2 separate regions of the Homo sapiens genome follow, and region 2 is linked to region 1. Evidence: promoter capture Hi-C in 16 types of primary human blood cells and fetal thymus (Javierre and others, 2016). All regions are on one chromosome and are shown on one strand. Each heading gives the region's core, a stretch centred on a gene start or on the middle of the fragment in contact. The rest is flanking DNA. Distances are from core to core; before and after follow the strand shown.

Evidence for each region. Contacts are between HindIII fragments. The CHiCAGO score rates a contact against its expected background, and 5 or more counts as called.
Region 2: a fragment that was not itself captured here is called in contact with the fragment with the promoter of DNAJB5 in region 1 in 1 of 17 cell types (erythroblasts); the score reaches 5.0 in erythroblasts.

What each region holds. Positions count from the first base shown.
Region 1 is chr9:34,987,228-34,991,498 of GRCh38, forward strand. It overlaps DNAJB5 (DnaJ heat shock protein family (Hsp40) member B5), which reads left to right and starts at 2,518. Exons shown (of 5, transcript NM_001349723.3): 1 at 2,518-2,604; 2 at 3,272-3,585. The coding sequence starts at 3,404. DNAJB5-DT (DNAJB5 divergent transcript) reads right to left here and starts at 2,152. Exons shown (of 2, transcript NR_109756.1): 1 at 1,932-2,152. RefSeq lists enhancers at 1,939-2,148, 2,703-3,632, 3,633-4,271 and silencers at 2,259-2,758, 2,273-2,421. The HindIII fragment of the contact is 19,763 bases long and covers 1-4,271 here.
Region 2 is chr9:35,550,713-35,554,983 of GRCh38, forward strand. The region is part of intron 2 of RUSC2 (RUN and SH3 domain containing 2); the gene reads left to right. Among named protein-coding and RNA genes, the nearest start is that of CIMIP2B, 11 kb to the right of the region's middle. The HindIII fragment of the contact is 1,575 bases long and covers 995-2,569 here.

The DNA of each region.
Region 1 (4,271 bases), core at 1,268-3,767:
TAAACTACATGCCCAGCTCAGAACTAAGTGCACTACCTGTGTTACCTTAATTAACCCTCTCAACAACCCCCTGAGGCACCAATCCCCATTTACAAAGGAGATGAGGCATGAGTGTGGCGTGTAAGCTCACAAGGTGCATAGACTCCAGACCACACTGTCACAGTCCATGCCACACTGAGCACTACACACACGTGACACCCAGGACAATGGGACTGAGGGCGGGAACCGAGGACTAGGCAAACAGTGGAGTCTGTGCCACCAACACCTGAAGGCACAGTTCTGCACCCTCAAAGGTCCGAGCCTACACTTTAGCATTAGCAGGGGCCAGGTAAAGGCTGGTGACTAAACTCTCTGCCTCCGTGTTGGCACAGGCAAGGCTGGGGGAGGCAAAAGAGACAGAACTGGAATAGGAAGAAGTAGAGCCACCCACAGCCTGGGCCCCACAGGTGTGGAGGTGGAAGAGTGAGAGCCCCCAGATCTGAGGAGCCAGCAGCGGTGCAGGGCCCCTCACCCCACCTTACCCATCTCTGTGTCACACAGAGATGTCCATCCCTCCTCCCTCCCCTCCCCCTTCCTCACTCCTCCTCACCCCATCTCTGTGCCTCATCCTTTCATTACTCACCCCTTCTTTCCTCATCCCTCACCCTGCCTTCCTGCCCCTCCCCAGCCCTTCTTTCCTTATCCCCCACCCTGCCTTCCCTCCCCTCCCCAGCCCTCCTTTCCTCTGCCCTCCTTACTCCCACCCTATGGCTCATCTGCCCCATGCCCCTCCCCTCCTCATCCCCCTCACCCCATCTCACCATCCTCTCACCACCCCCTCTCCCTACCTCCCCCCCTCAACCCCATTTCCTCAAATTCCTCATGCTCATTTCCCCACATTCATCACCCATCTCTGCTCCCCTCCTGGCCCCCAACCCCACTTCCTTTCCATCCTCCTTTCACCCCAAGTCTCTTTCTTCCTTCACACCTCATGCCCCTTTACCCTTGGGAGCCCCATAGTGACTCCTGGCATGAAGGTAGGTAGTGAAGAATCTACAGACATGACTCCAGGACCCTGGCACCCCCCCCCCGCCTTGCTCTGCTCTTGGCCCAGGTACTCAAGCTGCAGTTTCTAGCAAGACCTCATGGGTGTCCAAACTCTGTCTCTGGAAAATAGGAAAGAAAGAAGTAAAGGGGAGCTTCCGGCCTGACCCTTCTATCATCATCAACCCCCCAGCACTCCCCTCCCCCACTTCACCCCCAAATTACTCCCTCCCCACCCCCGCTCCCTCGAGCACAGATGGGCCTGGGAGACAGTGACGTGGGCGCCAGGCACCGTGTCTGCTGGAGTGGCGGCTTCCGCTGGCGACCGCCTCCGCAGCCCCGCCTGCTCCCTGCATCGGGGACACTGGGGCTGAGATCTAATGACTTAATGGGGGGTGGGGGAGACTAGAGATTCTGAGGGTGTTAAGGAAGGGGATCTTGGGGAGTGAGATGAAAGATGAAAGGGGAGAGCTAGGATAGGAGATCGGGGTGTAAAGAAAGAACCAAGAATAAGACAAAAGGGATCACTGCGGGAAGGAAGACAGGAGATCATCTAGGGCCAAGAAGGAAAGGGCTAAAACACAGGCACTCCAGGGGGAAGCAGGATGAGAGACTGATTAGAAGAGGGACTGAAATGGAGACCGCGGGGTCGCTGAAGAGGGGCGCGAGGATGAGGGGCTGTACAGAGGGTGGGCGGGGGAGATTCCTGGAGGCACCGGCCTGGGCAGAGCCATCCGTTTCCCTCGGGGGAGAGGTCCGGGGGGCTCTGAAACCCGGCATCCGTGGGGTCTGTTAGAGATTCCGTTAGGTCACATCAGGCCACCGCGGGGTCAGGATAAGGTAAAGCTAAATGAGGTCAGCTTGAGGTGGTTACACCGTTGGCTGAAAGGCGAGTAAGAAGTGCTGACCTTTTGGCCCCGGTCCAGGGACTACACCTCCCAGAGTGCACTGTTCTCTCCCTCTTGCCCCCCAATGAAGAAAGGAAAGAATGCACGGCCGCACGGCCAACTGGTGGGTACAGTTTTCCTTTAAGGCTGCCTTTGACGTCGCAAGGGTTCCAGAAGGTTCTCCTGGGATTCGAGCAGTGGCCAGTACGTCCCACCTTCTCAACCCGGAGATTGGACTAATATAGTTTGCCCCCGGGCTCGGGTCTGAGTCTCAGGCACGAACCAATAAAATCAAAGGGCGAGCGAGGTTGCCGCCCTCTGTCTTTTTCACCAATGGCACGACAAGATGGCAAAGAGGCGTGGTTGAGTGATCCCAGAGGGCGCCAATCAGATCCACACCAATCACTGCCTGGAATGTGTGCGCGTGTGGCCGGGTGACAGGGGCGGAGGATGGGCGGCTATCACCAAGCCGCTTGTTGAAAACTGCCCAATCACAGTGGAGGCTGAGCTGAGTGACAGGAAGACGGTTCAATGGGCGGCGCGGAGGCGGAGCCGTGGGGGCGGGCTCCCGGTCCCGCTATCGGCGGCCGGCGGGCAGGCGACTCCTGTCCCGGGTGGAGGCGGCGGAGCCGGAGCCGGGGGAGGGGGCAGCGGCTGTCTCACGGACCACGGCGGCGCCCGCAGCTCCTCACCGGTGAGGGCGCCAAGCCAGGACTCGGGGGTCCCGGGAGCGGGGCGTCGTGAAGCCAGGGCTCCTGGTGTTGGGGGGTTGGGACACTGAGGGCCCGTAGGCTCTGCTGCCTTGGGGATGCGGGGCCCCGGGGTCTGCAGGGTGCTCGGAGTCCTAGACCAGGGCTTGGCTGTCACAGGGGGCAGCCAGCGTCTGAGTCGGGGAGGGGAGGGGAGGGGAGGGTCGAGTCGGACCGGACCAGATTGGGTTCTGTGGGGCGGAGGCATCTGTGAGCAGACCAGCCAGCCAGCGCGGGTGACATCACCGACCACCCTCCCCCGCCCGAGCCCCCTCCCCTCCTCTCCTCGCCGCGCCTTTTGTCCCGGCCGAGCTCCGCTCTGCCCCGCCCATCTGCGAGGGAGGAGACTCCCGTCAGTGACTTCATTGAGTAGGTTCTTGGGGATTGGGGTCGGGTCCTCCCCAGTGAGAGGCGACAGGAGCTCACTGCCTCTCGGGCCCTCACAATCACACCTGTCACAGGTATACACGCTGCCACTCACAAACACACGCTTGCACTCCCAGCCTCACTGACACGCTGCCATACAGCCGCTCACAGCCAGCCAGACACTGCTGCACCTGAGAGCAGGTGGCCGCGGGTCTTCTCCCTTCACTCTCCACATTTGGGGATCAGGTCCGGCACCTGCTGCGCCAGACAGGCCTTGCTGGGCACGCGCCTCTGAGAGTCCAAGGAGGTGGCTTCCAGAGCTGCAGCACTTCAGGCCGGCTCCGGTGGAGCGATCAGAGGTGAGGGGCTTGGCTGGGCATGTTTAAGCGCACAGTGCTCTCCTGCCCACCCCCAGCAGCACCCCCACTGCAGGCCCGAGGAGCTTTCCGGAGCTTCCCACACTCCTGGGGAGAAGACTTCTTAGCCAGCTTGATGTTTAAAATTCAGCTGGAGCCCTTAAAACTTCGAGCGTGGACGCTGAATGGGTTTGTAAAGTTTCGGTAAGTCCCTCCGGAGAAGGGCACTCACACCCATACCCAGTCAAACCCTCCACGCGGCCATCCCCTCCATTGCCTTCCTGCTTCCTCCAACTCATCCTCATCCCCTCTGTGACATACAGGAACCCCCCTCCGGCCTCACCCACATATTTGAATGAATTGCACCCCTTATCATTCCTTTTCTCAAACCCTTCAGGTATCCATTTTCCACAGACATTTCCTCCATTATTTCAACTCTCCACATTCCTCCCTTTCAACCCATCATTAACCCATTTTCCACCTCAGCCATTTCCATCTGTCACTCATCCCCCTCCATCAGTACCTCATTTTCTGTATCAGCCATCTCCCCTCCCTGTACCTCAACAGTCCCCCTCGCCATTTTCTCCCCATTTTTCCTTCCTGCCTCTACCTTAACATCCTCCTCATTCTTCTCCATCAAAGGCAGTGCCATGCCATGGGGCTCCTTTGTCATTCCAACACGTGGCCTGTGGGTAGGGGGGAAGGGAAGGAGGGAGGAAAGCAGAAAGAGAAAAAGGAGGCAGATCCTGAAAGAGCTTGCCCTGTGTCTGCGGAGGCAAGAGATGTATGGGCCTAGAGCAGCTAGCAGGTGGGTACCAGGGAGGAAGCTGGCCGGGTGTGGAGGTAATGCAGGGACACCAAAAGGAGGTGGGTGGTTGGTGAGCCGTTCC
Region 2 (4,271 bases), core at 532-3,031, 560 kb after region 1:
AGGGGATACTGTGACTTAAGGGATGAGCAGCACCCTCAAAAGAGACAGAAGAATTAGGACAATAGAAGAAAAACCAGGAGAGGCCGGGCATGGTGGCTCATGCCTGTAATCCTAGCACTTCGGGAGGCCGAGGTGCGCGGGTCACCTGAGGTCAGGAGTTCACCAGCCTGACCAACATGGTGAAACCCCATCTCTACTAAAAATACAAAAATTAGGTGTGGTGGCGGGTGCCTGTAGTTCCAGCTACATGGGAGGCTGAGGCAGGAGAATCGCTTGAACCTGGGAGGCAGAGGTTGCAGTGAGCCAAGATTATGCCACTGCACTCCAGTCTGGGTGACAAAGTGAGAGTCCGTCTCAAAAAAAAAGAAAAACCAGGAGAGAGTGAAGTCACAGGAACCAAAGGAGGAGAAAGTTTAAAAAAAGTTTGAACCAAAAGAGTTCTAAAGAGAAATCACCTAAGATAATGAAGAATCCTGAAGGCAACATTCAGGAGTAGTGAGAGTGGAAGCCAGATCTCAGAGGGTTTAGAAGGAAAGGGAGGTAAAGCAGGGATAGCAGAGGCTCACAGCTGTGCTGTAGCCTTAGGTTGGGTCTGTTGGCTTCACAAAAGAAAATGTTTTAAAACCATAAATAATATCTGTGCTGTCAGGGAGATCACAGTCCATCAGAAGACTTCATGTTCCTAACATACACTGAAGAGCTGTCCTTGGGGTGGGCATGGGAGGGAGATCTCTAGGGAAGGGGCAGGATCAGAAACAGCAAGGATTGACTGGGTCCTTTGAACCCACTCCCTTAGACTGCAGTGTCTGTCTGCTGGGTGCATCTCGTGGGATACTATGACTGGCATTCTGAGGGCAAGAAATATCCTGGTCAGAGATGTGTTTTCTCTATCAGATTAAGACATATCAACATGCTGCTCTGTTCCATAAGTCTCCAGTCTTCTCTTGATTCTGTACAGCTTTTTTCTAAATCAAAAATGAATGACAATTCATCAAGCTTTGAATGACAAAAGAAGGGACAGGTTGATCCAATCTAGGAATGACAGTATAGGAAGCTGAGAAGGTCGGCTGGGCATGGTGGCTCACACCTATAATCCCAGCACTTTGGGAGGCTGAGGCAGGAGGATCACTTGAAGCCAGGGGTTTGAGACCAGCCTGGGCAATATAGTGAGACCCTGTGTCTACAGAAAAAAAAATTTAAAAACAGCTGGGAGTGATGGCACATGCCTGTAGTCCTAGCTACTCGGGAGGCTGAGGCAGGAGGATCGCCTGAGCCCAGGAGTTTGAGGCACAGTGAGCTATGATTGCACCACTGCATCCCAGCCTGGGCAAAAAGTGAGATCCTGTCTCTAAAAAAAATTAAAGTAGGCCAGGTGTGGTGGCTCATGCCTGTAATCCCAGCACTTTGGGAGGCTGAGGTGGGGAAATCATTTGAGGCCAGGAGTTCGAGACCAGCCTGGCCAACATGGAGAAACCCCATCTCTACTAAAAATACAAAAATTAGCTAGGCATGGTGGCGCACGCCTGTAGTCCCATCTACCCGGGAGGCTGAGGCACAATAATCGCTTGAACCTGGAAGGCGGAAGTTGCAGTAAGCTGAGATCACGCCACTGCACTCCAGCATGGGTGACAAAGTGAGACTCTGTCTCAGAAAAAAGTAAATTAAAAAATAAAAATAAAAAAGGCAGCTGAGACGGCTCTTTGAGATACTGAGCAGCAGAATCAAGATTTAAAGGGATCTTACTGAATCTTGAAAGAACAAAACTAATAAAGCAGAGACCAATGTGAAGTTTGATATGTAACCTGCACTTGAGTTGATTTGGGATATTTGATTGCAAACTCAGATTGAGTCAGCAGTTGGTAGAGCTTCCAAAAAGTTAAGATGACTGGATTCATTCATAGACTCCAGAAAGAAAGAGTGGATAGTCTCTCACTCCTCCGAACCAGTGAGTGCTCAGTGGTATTCCATTGAGTTCTGGGTACCACATCTTAAGAAGGAACTGAGGAACTGGGGGACTGGGGCTATTTAACCTAGAGAAAAACTGACTCGGGTGAATACGGTCTCTGTCTCTGGTTTTCTTAATGAATGTCACATAGAAAAGTGAGAAAACTTATTCTGTGTATTCCCTGAGGGTAGAACTAAGACCCATTCCCCACAGGGGCCCCCTTCTTACCTGATCTTATTCCTCTGCCTCAGTCTGTATCCTGGGAACTTAGCAGAGAGGAGTTTTAAAAGGGTAGGAATAAGCAGTCTAATTCAGACATACTTTGTATAGGGGGTATAATAATGCTGTGGTTGGGATGACCTAATCCGATAGCCAGAGTCAGCTCAGCCTTGAAAACTGATACTTAAATAGGCGGAAAGGAAGGACACATTCCTGATGGGAAAAGCAGTGGGCTTCATGACAGGGATGGACTGGGAAGAGTAGGGTCAGTGGGGGCAGGTGTGGAAGTCTGAAGGGAGAGCAGCCTAGCTCGTAGCAGGTGTGGGCAACTAGCTCACTGAGAAGATTAGACTTTATTCTGGGAGATAAAATTTGTATCTCAGAAGCTAGTTGGTGTATGTAAGAAGCTTCTGGTTGTAGTGAGACTGGCTTGAATCAAGAGTGACCGTGGAGATTCCCTCATTTAACAGATGGTTTTTCACTCCATACTGTGTGCCAGCCTCTGTTCCAGGCATTATGGATCCAGCAGTGAACAATATAAAATCCCCACTTTTCTGGAGCTCTTAGGAGCAGTAATGGACAATAAACACATTAAAAGGACAACTTTTAATTGCTGGAAAGTTCAACAATGCTGAAAAGAAAATGAAACAGGGTAATGGGATAGAGAGCAACTTGCCAGAGGGGCTGACGTAGTCAGAGAAGGTCTTATTGAGGGGGTGATATTTGAGCTGATGCCTGAATGGTGAGAAGATTCAGACAGAAAGAAAAGCAGGTGCAAAAGGCCCGGAGATGTTCATGCATCTGGTGTGTTTAAGGACGGGGAAGTGTGGCTGGAGCACAGTGGGCCAGGGAGAATGCAGAGTCTGTGTAAGCAGTGACTGGGTATAGCAGGAGGGTGGAGCTTGAAAGTGTCCCCTGGGAGTGATTCAGAAGCACCTCCCTAATGGGATTGTGGTCCCCATCCCCTCTGACTCTTTGATGTAAATAAGATGAGGGATAGGAAAACCTGGCCTGATACAATTTCACATGTAGTACAATGTGGTAAAAAGAACAGTGGCTCTGAAATCAGACTCTGGGTTAGGCAGAATTCTAGCTCTGCCACTTCCTAGTTGTTTGACCTTGAGCAAGTGCTTTAATCTGTCTACATTTCACATTTCCTAATATGTCAAGTAAGAGAACTAATTCCCGCCTCGCAGAGCTACTGAGCCCCACTGCTGGTGAGCTTTCACCAGGGCTTTAGGCCGGGTGCGTGCTTATAGCGCCATCTTACGTTTATTCGGAGATCTACAGTGTTTTGTTGGAAGTGCAGTCCATCCACTGTCCCACTCCAGTGTCCTGGAGTTTTGTGTTTAGTTCTGAGCACCACGTTTTGAAGGACATTGACCTGAAGACTGCCTGAAAGAACAGGAGAGGCCCAGCCTTGGGGAACATACCTCCGTTCAGGGGGAGCAAATGTGGACTCTGAGGTTCCAATGCCAGGATCGTGAAAAGAGTGGGAGTGGGGGTAGATACAGATAACAGGTAGGCTGCAAGTAAAGAAATATCTTACTATGGTTCGATATGCTCAGGAATGAAATGTGCTGGCATGATTGGAGATGGGATAATGAGCAAAAGCTTGAAGTCAGTAACATCTGAAACATTTTCATCACTGAAAATGTGTGTGACTGTGACTCCAAGACTTAGAAACAAAGAAAATGGTTCTGCCATTGATAGAAATGGAAGTCATCGGAAAAAAGGAGAAAGGTGATGGATAAGCGGTTATAGCACATTTTAAGTGAAAGCAGAACTATAAAGCAGAATGATCTGGAGATGAAGAGGAAGGTCCAGGCTAAAGCTGTGGGTTTGGGAGTCATCCCGTAGAAGTCTGAACTCAAAACTTCTCAAGAAATAAAGTGTAAGGTGAGATGCAAGAGTTGAGCCTTAAGATACACTCACCTTTGGAGTCAAGAAAATGAAGAGGGACTGAACAGCAGAGAGGTACAAGACAGTCCAGCACCATAAAAGCAATAGGAAGCGTTTTACAAAAGAGGGGAGCAGTGTCCCATTCCACGAACTTCTACCCCATTCAATTCCTGCCAGCCAGGTCCCTGCCCCTCTCCCCTCTCCC